Regions from separate parts of the Homo sapiens genome. Here region 2 is linked to region 1. The links are contacts of gene promoters, found by promoter capture Hi-C in human tissues and cell types (Jung and others, 2019). All regions are on one chromosome and are shown on one strand. The core of a region is centred on a gene start or on the middle of the fragment in contact, and the rest is flanking DNA. Distances in the headings are between cores, read along the strand shown. Region 1 holds the start of GRHL2 (grainyhead like transcription factor 2). Region 2 overlaps GRHL2 (grainyhead like transcription factor 2).

Region 1 (7,142 bases), core at 2,646-5,145:
AATGTAGAGTCATCCCATTACTTGAAATGTTATCCACATGAGAGACCTATAACTTCAGCCATTTTCTGAATAATAGCAGGACTCCTTAACAAAAAACACACAAAATGACTGAAATTATCATAAGCAAAAATGCGATGAGTAGGGAGAGGCAGTTTATCATGACCTGTATTTTTTTTTTTTTTTTTTGAGATGGAGTCTCGCACTGTCACCCAGGCTGGAGTGCAGTGGTGTGATCTCAGCTCACTGCAACCCCCGCCTCCCAGGTTCAAGGGATTCTCCTGCCTCAGCCTCCCAAGTAGCTGAGATTACAGGCACCTGCCACCACACCTGGCTAATTTTTTGTATATTTAGTAGAGACAGGGTTTCACTATGTTGATCAGGCTGGTCATGAACTCCTGACCTCGTGATCCACCTGCCTCGGCCTGCCAAAGTGCTGGGATTACAGGTGTGAGCCGCCGCGCCTGGCCCCTGTATTGTATTTTTAAAAACATTTTTGTAACTGTTGTATTTTTTGTGACTATTAAGCATTGTGTTTATTAGAAGTATGTCTGTCCATGAGTTGCTTTCCACTACAGTGTAAGCCCCCTGAGAACAGGGCTCATCTTATCCATCTTCGCATGCCTCTATTACGCCTATCTGAATGTGTTACAAATAGTAGGTAACCAGAAAATACACTTACCTAATGAAAAACACCTGTGAGTATCAAATCACATAGTACCTACACGTTCTCTAAATATATTTTATACATTTTGGCAGTAAAATAAGAGTTTCTTAATCTAGCATTGCTTCACTTGTACACATGCTTGCTGACAAAGATCTTAAATCTTCATAAAATTTAAGATGGAGTAGAGAATTTTAAAATATGTACAAAGACAAAATGTCCTAAAAATACTTTGTTTTAATTGGCGATAGCATCAACACTGCAGAACATCAAAAGCAGAACGTTTCAATCTGAAAAGTCCACACCATAAAAAAGACGATGCTACTTCAGTCCAGACTTGTTAACCAGAAATATCTTCCTGTGCAATCCCAAAGATTGCCTAAATCTCAATGGGATTATGAAAGAACATCCAGTGTGTGTTCGTTCATGTTATTTCCAGAAACTACAGGCAGGCCTCGTAAGGTGGATTTTCCATGAGGCTGATGAAGCCTCTCACTTGCTCAGGAAGGAAGCCCCACGCTGTACCCAGGGGCCCGTTTACTTACAGTCCCCACCCCATGTCACACACATAGTTGCATAAGCTTCAGACCCACCCCTGCCGGGGCTCCCTTAGAATATTAAGAAAACGAGGCTAGAATTCGCAAAAATGATCCAGAAGTCATGTATTGACTTAAAGCATTTTCAACAGCCCAATGAGAGAGAAACAAACCAGTTGAATTATCTCCTTGCACCATTGTAACGATTACTTTTCCCAGGATACAAAATTTCGTCTTGGAAACCACGACTAGATAAAAGCAACGTTCATTAAATGCAAGCATATGTAATCCCAGATACTTATCACCTGTAAAAACCAGGTGATGCGTGTGGTGAAACCAGATTGCGGGCGCTCAGTACTTATTTCTGATGGTAAACACATTGTTCTTATTGCTGCTAAGTATAACTGGTGAAAATAAAGACCGACCCGTTTTCATTCAGAATTCGAGTTCTGTTGTATCACAAAACTAAGCAAACTAAATGTTAATTGCGCGATTAATTAAATTAGATTTGCAATCATCTTTGACGCAGGCAAAGATCAAAACAAACCCCAAAAACTTGCTGTCGCCTCCGGATTTGGCTACTGAAAATTTCAAACTCGAGTCGTGTTTCCTTGAAGACTAGAGAGATATGGGGAGGAGCTGGGGGTGTTCTCAGACAACCACACACTCTCCTCTTCCTACCCTGCCTCTGACCCGCTCCCGTGTTGGTAACGCTAGTTCTTCCCCTCCGGTATGCTGTACTCGGTTAATTCCTCATCGGTGGCTAACGGGGTACAACTATCTGGCAGTTTTTTGCTTTTTAAGTATGACAGCGCATTTTCTTAGGTTCGCCTAACCTGCCAGCGGCTTTATGTTGAGGCTAGTCCTTCCCCTCCACCCCTGAACAGGTCCGCAGGGCCTTCCCACTCCTCCCTCGTGGTCCCTCAACTTGGGACGGGTCCCCGCCACTTCTCCATGACAGGCCCAGCGGCCCGCGGCCTTGGGGCACCGGCCCTCTCCGGCGAGACACCTTCAGGAAGGTCCCCTCGGGGTGGCCGCAACGCCACGGCAAAGTTACCGGGGAAAGCAAAAGGGCGGCCCCGCGCACTTCCAATAGGACGCAGCCAGTTCCCAGGCCCGGACGCGCCCGAGAGGAGGGGGAAGGGAGTGTCCCCGCCGAATCCCGAGAAAGGCCGCGGGACCCACCTCCGGCTCCCTCCCGCGCCCGCCCAGGCCCCACCTCCCCCGGCTCGCACAAAGCCTTCCGAGGGCGGGGGCCGGCCAGGGGGGAGGCCGTCAGGACGCGGCCGGACCGGGCCCAGTGACCCGCGGGCGGCTCCGGCCGCGCAGGCTGTGGCTCCCCGACGCGTCTGGAGTGCCTGTCCGGGACGGGAAGGACGCGAGCCCAGCGTTCCCGCCGCCCCGAGCCCTCGGCCTTGACGGCGAGAGCACCCCGAGAAGGCTCGGCGCGCCCCACGCAGTCCCGCCTGCCGCGTCCGAGGTGGCGGCCAACTGCGTGGAGGGCCGCGAGCTCGAGGGGCGTGCAGACGCCGTCGGGGGCGCGGGTGAATCGCTCAGTGGCAGGCGCCCCTTCGCGCCCCGCCGAGGCCCTAACTCGAGGCCTCACATGAGTTCCCCCAGTTCGCGAACCGTCCTTTCCCCCCGGGCACCTGAGGAAGGTGGCCAAACAATGCGGGGGCGGACCCGGGGGAGGGAGGCGGGGGAGGGGGGAGGAAGGCGGGATGTCGAGGGAGTGGGGGACGGCGCCGGCCGCCCCCGCGCCCCCCGGCCTCCCAGCGCCTCGCCTCCCATCGGGGCCACACGCGGGCGCGCACTCACGCCCACCCTCCTGCCCGGTGCGAGAAGATGGCCGTTTCTGCCTCATATAAAAGCTCTTTGTTGCGGTCACACAAAAGCGGCCAAGCCCCACTTTTCCAGTAGGCCCTTTGGACAAATCGAAGGAACTCAGCTGAACTTCCAAATGGCCCTAAACGCCAGATCGGTGGGAGCAGCTAAAACAGAGAGGGAAGAGCAGGCCTCCCGCGCCCATCTACCAAAACCTCTGGCAATATCCAAGTATTCATCCAGGAGCGGGAGCTGAGACCATTCCTAAGGGAAGAAGGAAAAGGAAAACCCACTTTTACTATCAAGGCCCAAAGGGGATATTAAATATTCACATTGTTGTAGGGTTTCTCCCCTTAATCAGGGTAGAAACATAATGCGGAAAAGTCTGGATCCACCAAAAAGAAAAAGAAAAAAGAAAGAAAAATACCAACAATAGCAACTTAAAAACAAAAACATAACAAACCAGTTGCCATCAGCCCAAAGTGGTAGTAGTAGCAGCAGCCGGCGCGTGTGATCCACTTACTTGTCCGACTCTTGTGACATGTTTGATCCAATGAACTTGCTCCGCTTTTCCTGGAGCCTCAGCCTCTGGTGAAACTGGACTTTCAAGTCTGTGCAGGTGAAGGTGTGTGAGAGCGCCCGAGATGGCAGAACAAGAGCTACAGGTAATTCTGCTTTTCCGTCCCCCCTCACCACTCTCGCTCGCTCGCCCGCTCGCGCCCTCACCTAGCCGGAAAGGTGGGATAAGGGGGGGCCCCTCACATGGGGCCCGAGCTCGGAGGCGGCCGGGCGGCGCGGAGTCCTCCTGGATCGTGGCAATGGGCAGACACAGAGCAGAAAGTGGCGGACTTGGGCGGCCACAGGTAACTTTCTCGCAAGGAGCTGAATTCTTTCACTAAAGGGTACAAGCCCGAGGGACGAGCTGCGCGATGATTGGCTGGGGAGCTCCCTCAGGTGAGCTGCCATTGGCAGAGGCGCGCTCAGGTAAGGCCCTTCTCCGAGTGCAGGTAACTCACTCCGAAGTTTACCCGAGTGGAGCGGCGGCATGCTTGCAGCTCGGCGGCAGCCTGTGAGAGCTGAGGGTCAGTTCTTCGAGTAGATCTCAAGCTGCGTTTTCCTCCTTCTCCAAAGCAGGGATGGGAAGGTGGAGGCTACTGGTTGAAGAGAAGAAAGGGGTTGGGGGAATGCAACACCTGCAAACACTAGGGATTGTGGGTCGAGCGGAAGAGCTAATGAGAGCCGAGCTCAGGTATCCCAAGTCAACCAGAATCAAATGCGCAGTACGCCACAAGGCATTTAATGCCCACAGTAACAGGGCTGTTTGACAGTGGCAGAAGAGGACGGGACTAAAGTTACTTTGTGCTGAGAGGGGGAAAGAAGCACAAAGTTTGGTCTGTTGCGTAATTGAATTTTTAACACTCTTATCCACAACAAACACTTTTTCGTGTCCTGCTGTGTAAAAGACATCAGATATATTACAGATTTTCAAACAGGTGAGCATCCTTTTACGAGCTGGGCAGGTGGGGAGTGGCGTGGTTTTGATGGAGTGAGGAGATTTGGTTGAATGAACGCTAAGATGGCCAGACGCACCTCTTCGATCTCAACTCTGCAGCCTGGGATTCCAGAGCTGCAAACAACCACTGAATTCGTTCTGTAAACCTGTTGTCATTTGACGTTTCCAGGCAGGCATCAACATTTACATTGTAATTCAATAGACGCTACTACTACAAAGGAGCTTTATTCTTCCAGCTTAATATGGTTGCTGCGGGAACACTGCAGGATGAAACTGACTTTTTTTGTGGTAATGTTTCTCCTGGTTGGGAACAACGCAAATTAGCAAAGGCGTAATTTATAACCGCTGCTACCAAAGAGTGAAGTATTTGTGGAAGTTCTGACTGGAATCTAGCTCGTACATATGGATTGTGGAAATAAAGGAGGACGTGGAAAGCTTGCCATATTTTATTTCAAGTTAATACTAAAGCTGCCAGACTTAATACAACTTTCTTTTAATCTTTATGGATCACATATTTTCTGAAAATTACATGATAAAACAAGGTTTGGTTTGTTCCATGTGTCCATTTTCAACAATAAATTTCAAAATTGTATTTTTAAAAAACAATATAAACACACACTTTAAAGAAATAATATATTTTAAGACAATGCAGGTACTATTTTAATATAATATTTTAAGATAATGCAATACCTATCATGTTCCTCTCCTTTTTAGAGGCAGCCATATTCTGCTTTTATCTGTCTCTTCTGTCATTTACCTCCCTATTTCTAAATAATTTGTACTGCCATCTCTTGATTTGCCAATAGATGTTGTGCTCTGACTACCTGTTGCTTCAGATTAGGATTTAGCTCTTTCATGCCAAGCAACTTCTCCTTCCAACACAGCACTTTCACAGTTTAGGAGCTAAGTAAGTGACTATGCCAATAGCAATGACAACACAGCCAATAGTGTACTATTCTTGTTTTCTTCCTTATAAAACCTTGTATCTATTTACTTAGTTTGTTATGCCCCATCCTGATATTTTTCTACAACTGATCTATCAAATGACTATCATGTTTATTTTCCAAATGATCAAACAATCAATTCCAATTTTGCCCTGAAAACAATTCCTCCAGAAATTCATTGTTCTACTGTTTCAGTGGAGATGAGTTGCTCTATGGATCCGCTTCTCAAGTGTCATCCTGGGACACTCTTTTTTTTTTTTTTTTTTTTTTTTTGACAGAGTCTCTCTCTGTTGCCCAGGCTAGTGTGCAACGGTGTGATCTCAGCTCACTACAACCTCTGCCTCCCGGGTTCAAGTGATTCTCCTGCCTCAGCCTCCCAAGTAGCTGGGATTACAGGCATGCACCACCAAGTCCAGCTAATTTTGTATTTTTAGTAGAGACGGGGTTTCTCCATGTTGGTCAGGCTGGTCTAGAACTCCCAACCTCAGGTGATCCACCTGCCTCAGCCTCCCAAAGTGCTGGGATTACAGGTGTGAGCCACCGTGCCCGGCCTGGGACACTCCTTAATCTGTAGTGTGAGAACCCCCATTTCTGTGTTTTGTGCCTTCTTTCTTGGTTTACTGCTTCATTTTCCATGGCACATGTTTTAGTAACAGCCCAAGAAAGGGTACAGAAGGTAAAAATTTGAGTTATTACATACTTGAATATGTCTTTATTCAACTTTTACTTTTACTAGAGTTTGACCAAGTGTAGAATTCTTACCAGAATTTCTTCATTCATAATTTTATAGAAATTGCTTTTCACTTATTTATTTTAATTTTTTAATTAAAAAAAATTTTTAGGCCATGCACAGTGGCTTGCACCTGTAATCCCAGCACTTTGGGAGGCCAAGGCAGGAGGATCACTTGAGTCCAGGAGTTCAAGATCAGCATGGGCAATGTAGCTAGACCCCATCTCTACAAAAAATACAAAAATTAACCAGGCATACTGGTGTGCACCTGTAGTCCCGGCTACTCAGGGGGCTGAGGAGAGGAGATTGCCTGACCCCAGGGAGGTCAAGGCTGCAGTGAGTCAAGATCATGACACTGCACTCCAGCCTGGGCTACAGAGCAAAACCTTGTCTCTAAAAAAATTAATTAATTAAATTTTTAAAAACAAGTTCTTACTCTGTCACACCACCTGGAGTGCAGTGACATGGTCATAGCTCTCTGCAGCCTCAAAATCCTGGACTCAAGTGATCCTCCTGACTCAACTTCCCAGGTAGCTGGGATTACAGGCAAAAATTGCTCTTTTATCTTCTAGCTTCCAGTGTTACTATTGAGAATGTCACTTAATTTTGCTGTGCTTCAGTTTCCTCATCTATAAAATGGAGATTATAATAGTAATTATCTCACTAATATGTCTGAACCACTTAGAACATTACCAGGCACTTATTAAATTCTCAATTATTATTCAATCTTATTATTTATTTTTTAAACTGGATTAATCTCAGAATGTTCTTTTTTTTTTTTTTTTTCCTGTTGCACATGTCTTCACCTTTTGTCCTATTTTGGAAGATATTTTCTTGCTTTACTTTCTACTGCAGTTGTTACCTCAACTATTTAAAGAGCTCATTTCATGCTGTCTGTTATAAAGAGAATTTAGTGATTATGTCACAGTCGCAC
Region 2 (7,142 bases), core at 2,205-4,704, 73 kb before region 1:
CATACCTTATATCACAGTTTCCATACATATTTATGATCCTTCTTTTTATCCAATCTTACTTCTTGAATTCAAGAAGATTATCTTCCCTTCAAATTTTACCCACATGAATCCCAGGAACATTGCCCAAATAATTGTTGGCTGAATAAATAATCATGACAGAGAATCAAAGGTACAGATTTGTGTTTCTTTTGCAATAAATTAGGTAATCAGCAAAGCATTCAATGGGAATTTTCTGGGGCTTCACAATCTGCTTTGGTGCCAGAAGAAACACAAAATTATATATAACACTGCCCTGGCCTCAGAGAGATAAAAATTGGTTGAGGGGATGGAATAAATTCACATTAAAAAAAAAAAACTAAAATACAGAAAATGGCTATATATGAAAGTCTATGTTGAATCATTCATTCTTTCATGTGTCTTGACTGGAAAAGCATGGACTGGGCATTACCAGGAAAGGAAGATCAGCAAAATTATAGGGGGATTTCATAGAGCTGGTGAGCTTCGCTCTGACCCTTGGAAGTCAAAGACAGCCTGGATTAACTGAAGGAACTGAGAGAAAGTAACCCAAGCAAGGGAGGGCCACCATGAGTCAAGACAAAAACGATGAGTACAAATGTGGTGCATACATGAGGCCAAGGACACAGGCCTTGCCTGGTTATTTAGCAGGGACTTGAAAATGTAGGTCCTGCTGCCCAATATGATAGCCCCTAGCTCCATGTGCTATTTAAATTTAAGTGGATTAGACTGAAATAAATTTAAACATCTGATTCCTCAGTCAACTAGCCACATTTCAAGTACTACATTAACACATTGGCTAGTGACTAACATTGGATAGTATTAAAAAAAATTTCCATCATTGCAGAAAGCTCTACTGGACAGGCTGATTTAGGAAAATGTATTTACATTTAATATGGTCAGGAATTAGAAAATTTTGGAGTAGGAGGGTAATATGATGAAAAAACTATTGGAGACACAGATGCATTTCCAAAGTGTTTGCTTGAAGGAATATGCAGTAATCCATAAAAACCAGGTGAATCAGCATTAGTAAACATGGCAAGAATGAATTACCATCCATGCCATAGATTTCTGCAGCCTGAGGATAGGCTAACCTCCTAAAGCATATTGGACTTGTAAATTCTGTGGTTCTAATCCCCCAGATGGCATGAGAAGGTATGATACTACAAATCTTCAGACTCAGAAAGACTCAACTACATTCTGGCTGAAATACAGAATCCCACTTCAATGCATGAATGCATGAGGACAAGAACTGTGAAGAAATAAACATTTTTCACAGTTCCATGTTATAGTAGTGGTGACTACTGTAGTTACCATGTTACAAACATAGATATTACTTTTCATTAAGCTTAAAATTTTTTCTTCAATTCTGTTACATTATCTTTATAATTTTAAAAGAATTAAATGGATAGTGTACCTAGAAAACATCACCATCCTTTAGATGAGACCTGATTACATTGATGGGTTACATGGCTGTAAGTAAATTAGTATTAGGAATTAGAATCAAAATGCTCAGGTCATTCTGGCTACAGTTATCAAGTTTCCACAGTTGCTCGGAGACCTATTAATATAATTTGTAGGATGCCAAAAGGCAGTCAGACAGCCAACATCACTGTAGTTTACTGTGATTTGATACAGTGCATCTGTAAATTTGAACTCAGAAAAATGATAGTAAAGAAGGTATGCTAACATATACTTGATAGATTACTCTTAAAGGACCTTAGACATTAGGCAATAGTAAACATATTTAAATCTCAAATATTGGAATTCTGTTCTTTCTCTTGGGTTGCAAAGACAAGATATCTGGTAAGAATATGTCTCAAAAAGACAATGATTCTTTAACTGTAGGGAAATCATAAATTGCTAAACCATTTCTTGTCTTTGATTAGCCACAATTTTTTAGGTCCCATCATTTACCCATTCACTCTTTCAATAAATATTTATTGAACATTTACTTTATATCAGGCACTGTGCTCAGTGCTACAGACACAGTGGTGAACAAAAGGAGAATAGGTCCCTGCTCTCATGAAGCTTCTGGTAAAGTAGGAAAAAACGCTAATCAAATATTTTAAAAACTACAAACTGTGTGCAGGCATTCTGAAGAAGAGCAAAAGTTCTATATGAGCTCATCAAATTCACTGCTATGAGAAAGGGAAAATTGGCATCACTGGCAGTCAACCTTAATGTTCCTAACAGAGTGCAATGTTTCCAGAGAAACATGGATAAGGTTGTATGGGGGAGGATCATAAGTTAGACTTGGGATAAGTAAAAAAAATCAATCGGGCAGTTAGATATAATAAATATAATTATATTAATTATAATAATATATATAATAATATTATTATATTTATATTATTATAGTTATAACATAAATATTATTACATTATAATAAATATTAGTTCAGAAGAGAGGACCGGGCTGGAGAGTAAAATTGGAAGGTCTTTTGGACACAGATGATAACTGAAGCTGTGGACATGAAGCCAAGAGCATTTGCAAGAGGGAGGAGTGATCAACAGTGTCAAATGGTGCTGCAAAGTTAAATAACAGCTTTAACAGAACTGGGACATTCATAGACATTCTGTGCATGAGGTGAGTAAATGCCATGTTAATATAAATAATGAGTGATCTAGTCTTATCAACTTTGACTACATATAGATTTAAATCCTCCTAAGGTATAAAATGTGTATCCCAGAGAATTTCTAAAATTTTACTTGGTGCTAAAACACATTAACAAAGTGACAGAAATTTGGTGTTACCATAGCCACTGCATCATATGTTTAAGATAAACATAATAAAACTGTGTGCATTAATCCAAAGTGAGGCCATGTTCCAATGTAGTAGATGAATCAACATTTTTGAGATTTTGTCCTTTAAATGTGTGGAGGATAATGGACTACCAGCTGTCAATCAATTAAGTTGGATAGGGTTTAGATCCAGGATCACTTCCAGTTTCAGACTAGATGAATATAAAATCAATGGACTAATGATCATACATCTATCCAGATAATGACAAATAGTCATTACTTGCTTTCATTTCAAGATGCTCTGCAAACTATGTTAATTCTACAAATAACATGCCTGGAGTTGAGTTATGAAATACACAGTAGAGCTGTCCGATGTTCACTTATAAATAGTTCTTCTCAATTCCTGAGCACATGGGAGGACTAATGGGAGAATTAAACTTCTCGGCCCTCTTGCAGTTATGTTGATCAGGTGGCTAGTTCTAGCCAACAAAATGTGAGATGGTGCAGTTGCGCCACTTCCAGGTCAACTAGTCAATATGACTAAAGTCAGTAAAGTATGACTTTACAAGTCAGTATGCCATCTCCATGGCCTCCCTTCCTCTGCTGGGGAGACACTAGAAACCACACATAGAGATGATAATGTCACAAGATGCAGGGACCCTGGATTCCTGAGTCACTAATTGGAAGAGAACTGTACAGACATGCATCAGTGTTTTATTAGCAAGAAATAATATTTTATTGTATTAAATCACTGAGATCTTGATGTTGCTTTGTTCCTAAACCAGAAACTATTGTTAACTGACTTATAGAAAACTGTAGTACAGAATAAACAAATTCTTCCTTCCATTTTGATTTATTATGATTATATATCTATATGATTTTTGATAAAAATCCTTCCATCTTTTAATTTTTAAATGTTTCTTAAAATATTTTTGGTCTTAAATACCACTCCATTGTATATTTATCAACTATACTCTTTGCTTATTAGTGGCATGATCTTTGGTTTGTTTCTTAACCTCTCTGAACCTCTGTCTCTTCATCTGTAAAATGGAAAAAATAATGCACCTTCCTTGCAGGATGACAGTAAGGATAAGAAGTAAAATGAGTAAGCCATGGTGCCTGGCACAGAGTAGAACTCAATAAATGGCATCTAGCATTATTTCCCTTCACACATACAGACAGATTGTAAGCTTCTAGAAGGCAGAAACCAGTATGCATTTTGCCCTAAGCTTCCACATCACCACAGTGCCTAATACCCAGTATAAATCAACACATATTTGCCAAATGTTATTACAAAGAGGATGTGGAATAAAATATAGATCAAATTAGCTAAAATTCATCCATTAAAGTGGTTTTTTTTTTTTTTTTTTGGAGACAGGGCCTTGCTCTGTCACCCAAGTTGGAGTGCAGTGGCATGATCATAGCTTCCTGCAGCCTGAACTTCCTGGACTGAAGCAATCCTCCCGCCTCAGCCTCCCAAGCAGCTCGGACTACAGGTGCATGCCACCACACCTAGCTAATTTTTTTATTTTGTATTTTTGTAGAGACAGGGTCTCACTATGTTGCCCAGGCTAGTCTTGAACTCATGGGCTCAAATGATCCTCCCGCCTCTGCCTCCCAAAGTGCTGGGATTACAGGCACAAGCCACCACTCCCAGTCTAAAGCACTTTTTAATGCTACCACTGTCTTTTCAAAAATCCCAGCCTGAGTTAAAGCAAACTACTCCCTTCCCTGCTACCACTGTGCACACATGCACGTGCACATACACACAGAAGAATTGGTCTCAAATGGCAAAATAAATTTGATTATTCAACCCGGGTTCTAGATATTTTAATAGTTTGCCTAGAATAAGTGAGTTTAGACAAATTTTCCTTAATGAAATTTTCTTGGTGAAATTACTCTGAAATCACTTAATCTTATAACTAGTTGACAATGAAATAGCTAAAGATCATAGTAGGATATTCAATTTAATTTACACCAGGCTGAAATACAACATGCCATGTAAACACTGATTTCCAAGACAAGGACAGCAGCTCAACCAAAATCAGTGGGAATAGTCTTTATATTTCGTTTCTGGTAAGTTTCTTTACTTTCTCATCTACTTCAAAATAAAGCCCAAAATACAATAGCTTCCTTTCACAAGCCTCTTTATCTACAATACAAACAACAAACATAACTGATAACACATCCCCCAAATAGCATGATGATTCCGTTGACATTGGACCACATCCATACACTCTTCTGTGACTAATGGAATATTTCTACACTGTGTGAGAAAATACATCAGTGGCAATCTTTTGGTGAAAAAACATGTACCTCACATGGGATCATGGAGTGATAATTTCAGTTATTTTCTTCTACAGAAGCACCCCTCACTACTTAAGAGCAAATCAAATAATCAACAATACCAAAGACTCTACAAGATCCTTCATTCAGTTTAAAAACAAAAAAACAAAAAAAAACAAAAAAAAAATAAGTTTGCTAACTATTTTAAGCAATATGATGCAGGAAGCTAAGAAAGATAATTTTAAGACCATTTTTTAAATTTCAAGAGCATTGAAAGTTTGATTGTAAAGCTACCAGAACCCAAGAAATATGACAGCCTCTTAAGGACAAGGAATTTATCATATGTCACTTTCATCACTCCCTGATTCCACAGAATACAGCAGGCACTCAGAAATGACTGGTGCCAGGAGTGGCAGGGCTGCTAGTGCAACTTCTATGTCCTAGTATACAACAGTTGCTCTCTGCAACTTTGCAGAGAGCCAGTCCCTGCTCATCAACCTTTTGTACTCTTTGCTCACCTGAAAGATTAAAAAAAAAAAATCTGAGATGGACCAAGGACAGTCAAATGTTTTTAAAAAGATTTTGGTGAATCACTGTCTTAAGCAATGGAACTATTGAGAATTAGAAGGCCCCAGGCTTCTCTGAGTGTGTAGTCATATGGTTAAGGATTTAGGTCCTGAAGCCAGACAGCTTAGGTTGAGTCCTATCCCTCCCACTTACTGCTAAATAACCATGAGCATACTTATGCTCTCTATCCCTCAGTTTCCTCATTTAGAATATAGAGATGACAATAATAGTACCTACCACATAGGGCTTTTGTGAGGCTTATATATCCTTAGAATGATGCCCAGCACATAGTGAGTACCCATCAAATATTCATTATTTTCAAATATTATTACTTAAAGATGAAATCTCAAGCTCAGGCAGCTGCATTTTTCCCAATGGAAATTAAATAGGCAGCAGGCTAAAGATATTATCATGCTGCCACTACACTCACTTCTCTTTAGGAAACTGGAAAACCACACATTCTCTCCTTCTGCCATTGTCTTTTATTGGCCTAGGTGGGCTGAAAAGTAGAGAACCAATGACCCCCATCTTGAATGCAGAGGCAGTGCTCCTAAACAGTGAAGAAGCTGATCTGAGCTAATAAAAATACACATTACATATTCTACATCAAAAGTTGGAAAAGGTACCAACAATTATATCACAAATTGCTGTTTTACCAAGATCCCAAGGCAATTCAATGAATACAAGATCATCTTTTTAACAAATGGTGCCACAACGAAACCAGTATGGCTGGATATCAGTATGGAGAAAAGGGTCTCAATCCTTACCTCACACCATATATAAAAATTACATCACCTCTCAAGCTTGGTGTTTGGTTGGTGGGGACCCACACGGGTTCAATATGCATATTGAGAAGTGTTATATTTGTTCAGGGCCCATCTACCCTGGCCACGGCATGACGTTTGTCCACAATAATTGCAAGGTGTTCAGATTTTGCAAATCTAAATGTCATAAAAACTTTAAAAAGAAGCACAATCCTCCAAAGCTAGGTGAACCAAAGCATTCCTGAAAGCAGCTGGTAAAGGGCTTACGGCGTATAATTCATTTGAATTTGAAAAATGTAGAAATGAACCTATCGAATACCAGTGAGAGCTATGGAATAAAAGTATTGATTCAATGAAGAGAGTTGAAGAAATCAAACAGAAACGCCAAGCTAAATTTATAATGAACAGATCGAAGAAAAATAAAGAGCTACAAAAGTTCAGGATATCAAAGAAGTAAAGCAAAACATCCATCTTATCTGAGCCCCCCTTGCAGGCAAAGGGAAGTAGTTGGAAGAGAAAATGGTACAACAGTTACAAGAGGATGTGGACATGGAAGATGCTTCTTAAAAATCTCTGTAACCATTTCTTTTATGTACATTTGAAAATGCCCTTTGGAGACTTGGAACTGCTAAATTATTATTTTTTACATAAGGTCACTTAAATGAAAAGTGATTAAAATATATCTTTCCTACATTGCCATCTACAAAACATCAGATATTACAGATGTTAGATTGCATCTCAGTGTTAAATCTTTACTGATAGATGT

The links. The method cuts DNA at HindIII sites, captures the fragments that hold promoters and counts their contacts. A contact is called where the count stands out against the background at its distance.
Region 2: a contact is called between a fragment that was not itself captured here and the fragment with the promoter of GRHL2 in region 1, in 2 of the 25 tissues and cell types used here (aorta and bladder).

Annotation. Positions count from the first base shown.
Region 1 is chr8:101,489,192-101,496,333 of GRCh38, reverse strand. GRHL2 (grainyhead like transcription factor 2) reads right to left here and starts at 3,895. Exons shown (of 16, transcript NM_024915.4): 1 at 3,545-3,895. The coding sequence starts at 3,564. It overlaps GRHL2-DT (GRHL2 divergent transcript), which reads left to right and starts at 3,629. Exons shown (of 2, transcript NR_186782.1): 1 at 3,629-3,884. RefSeq lists an enhancer at 3,349-3,877. The HindIII fragment of the contact is 12,677 bases long and covers 1-7,142 here.
Region 2 is chr8:101,561,800-101,568,941 of GRCh38, reverse strand. All of the region lies in intron 4 of GRHL2 (grainyhead like transcription factor 2), which reads right to left. It also overlaps the pseudogene LOC124901995. Among named protein-coding and RNA genes, the nearest start is that of GRHL2-DT, 73 kb to the right of the region's middle. The HindIII fragment of the contact is 3,497 bases long and covers 1,706-5,202 here.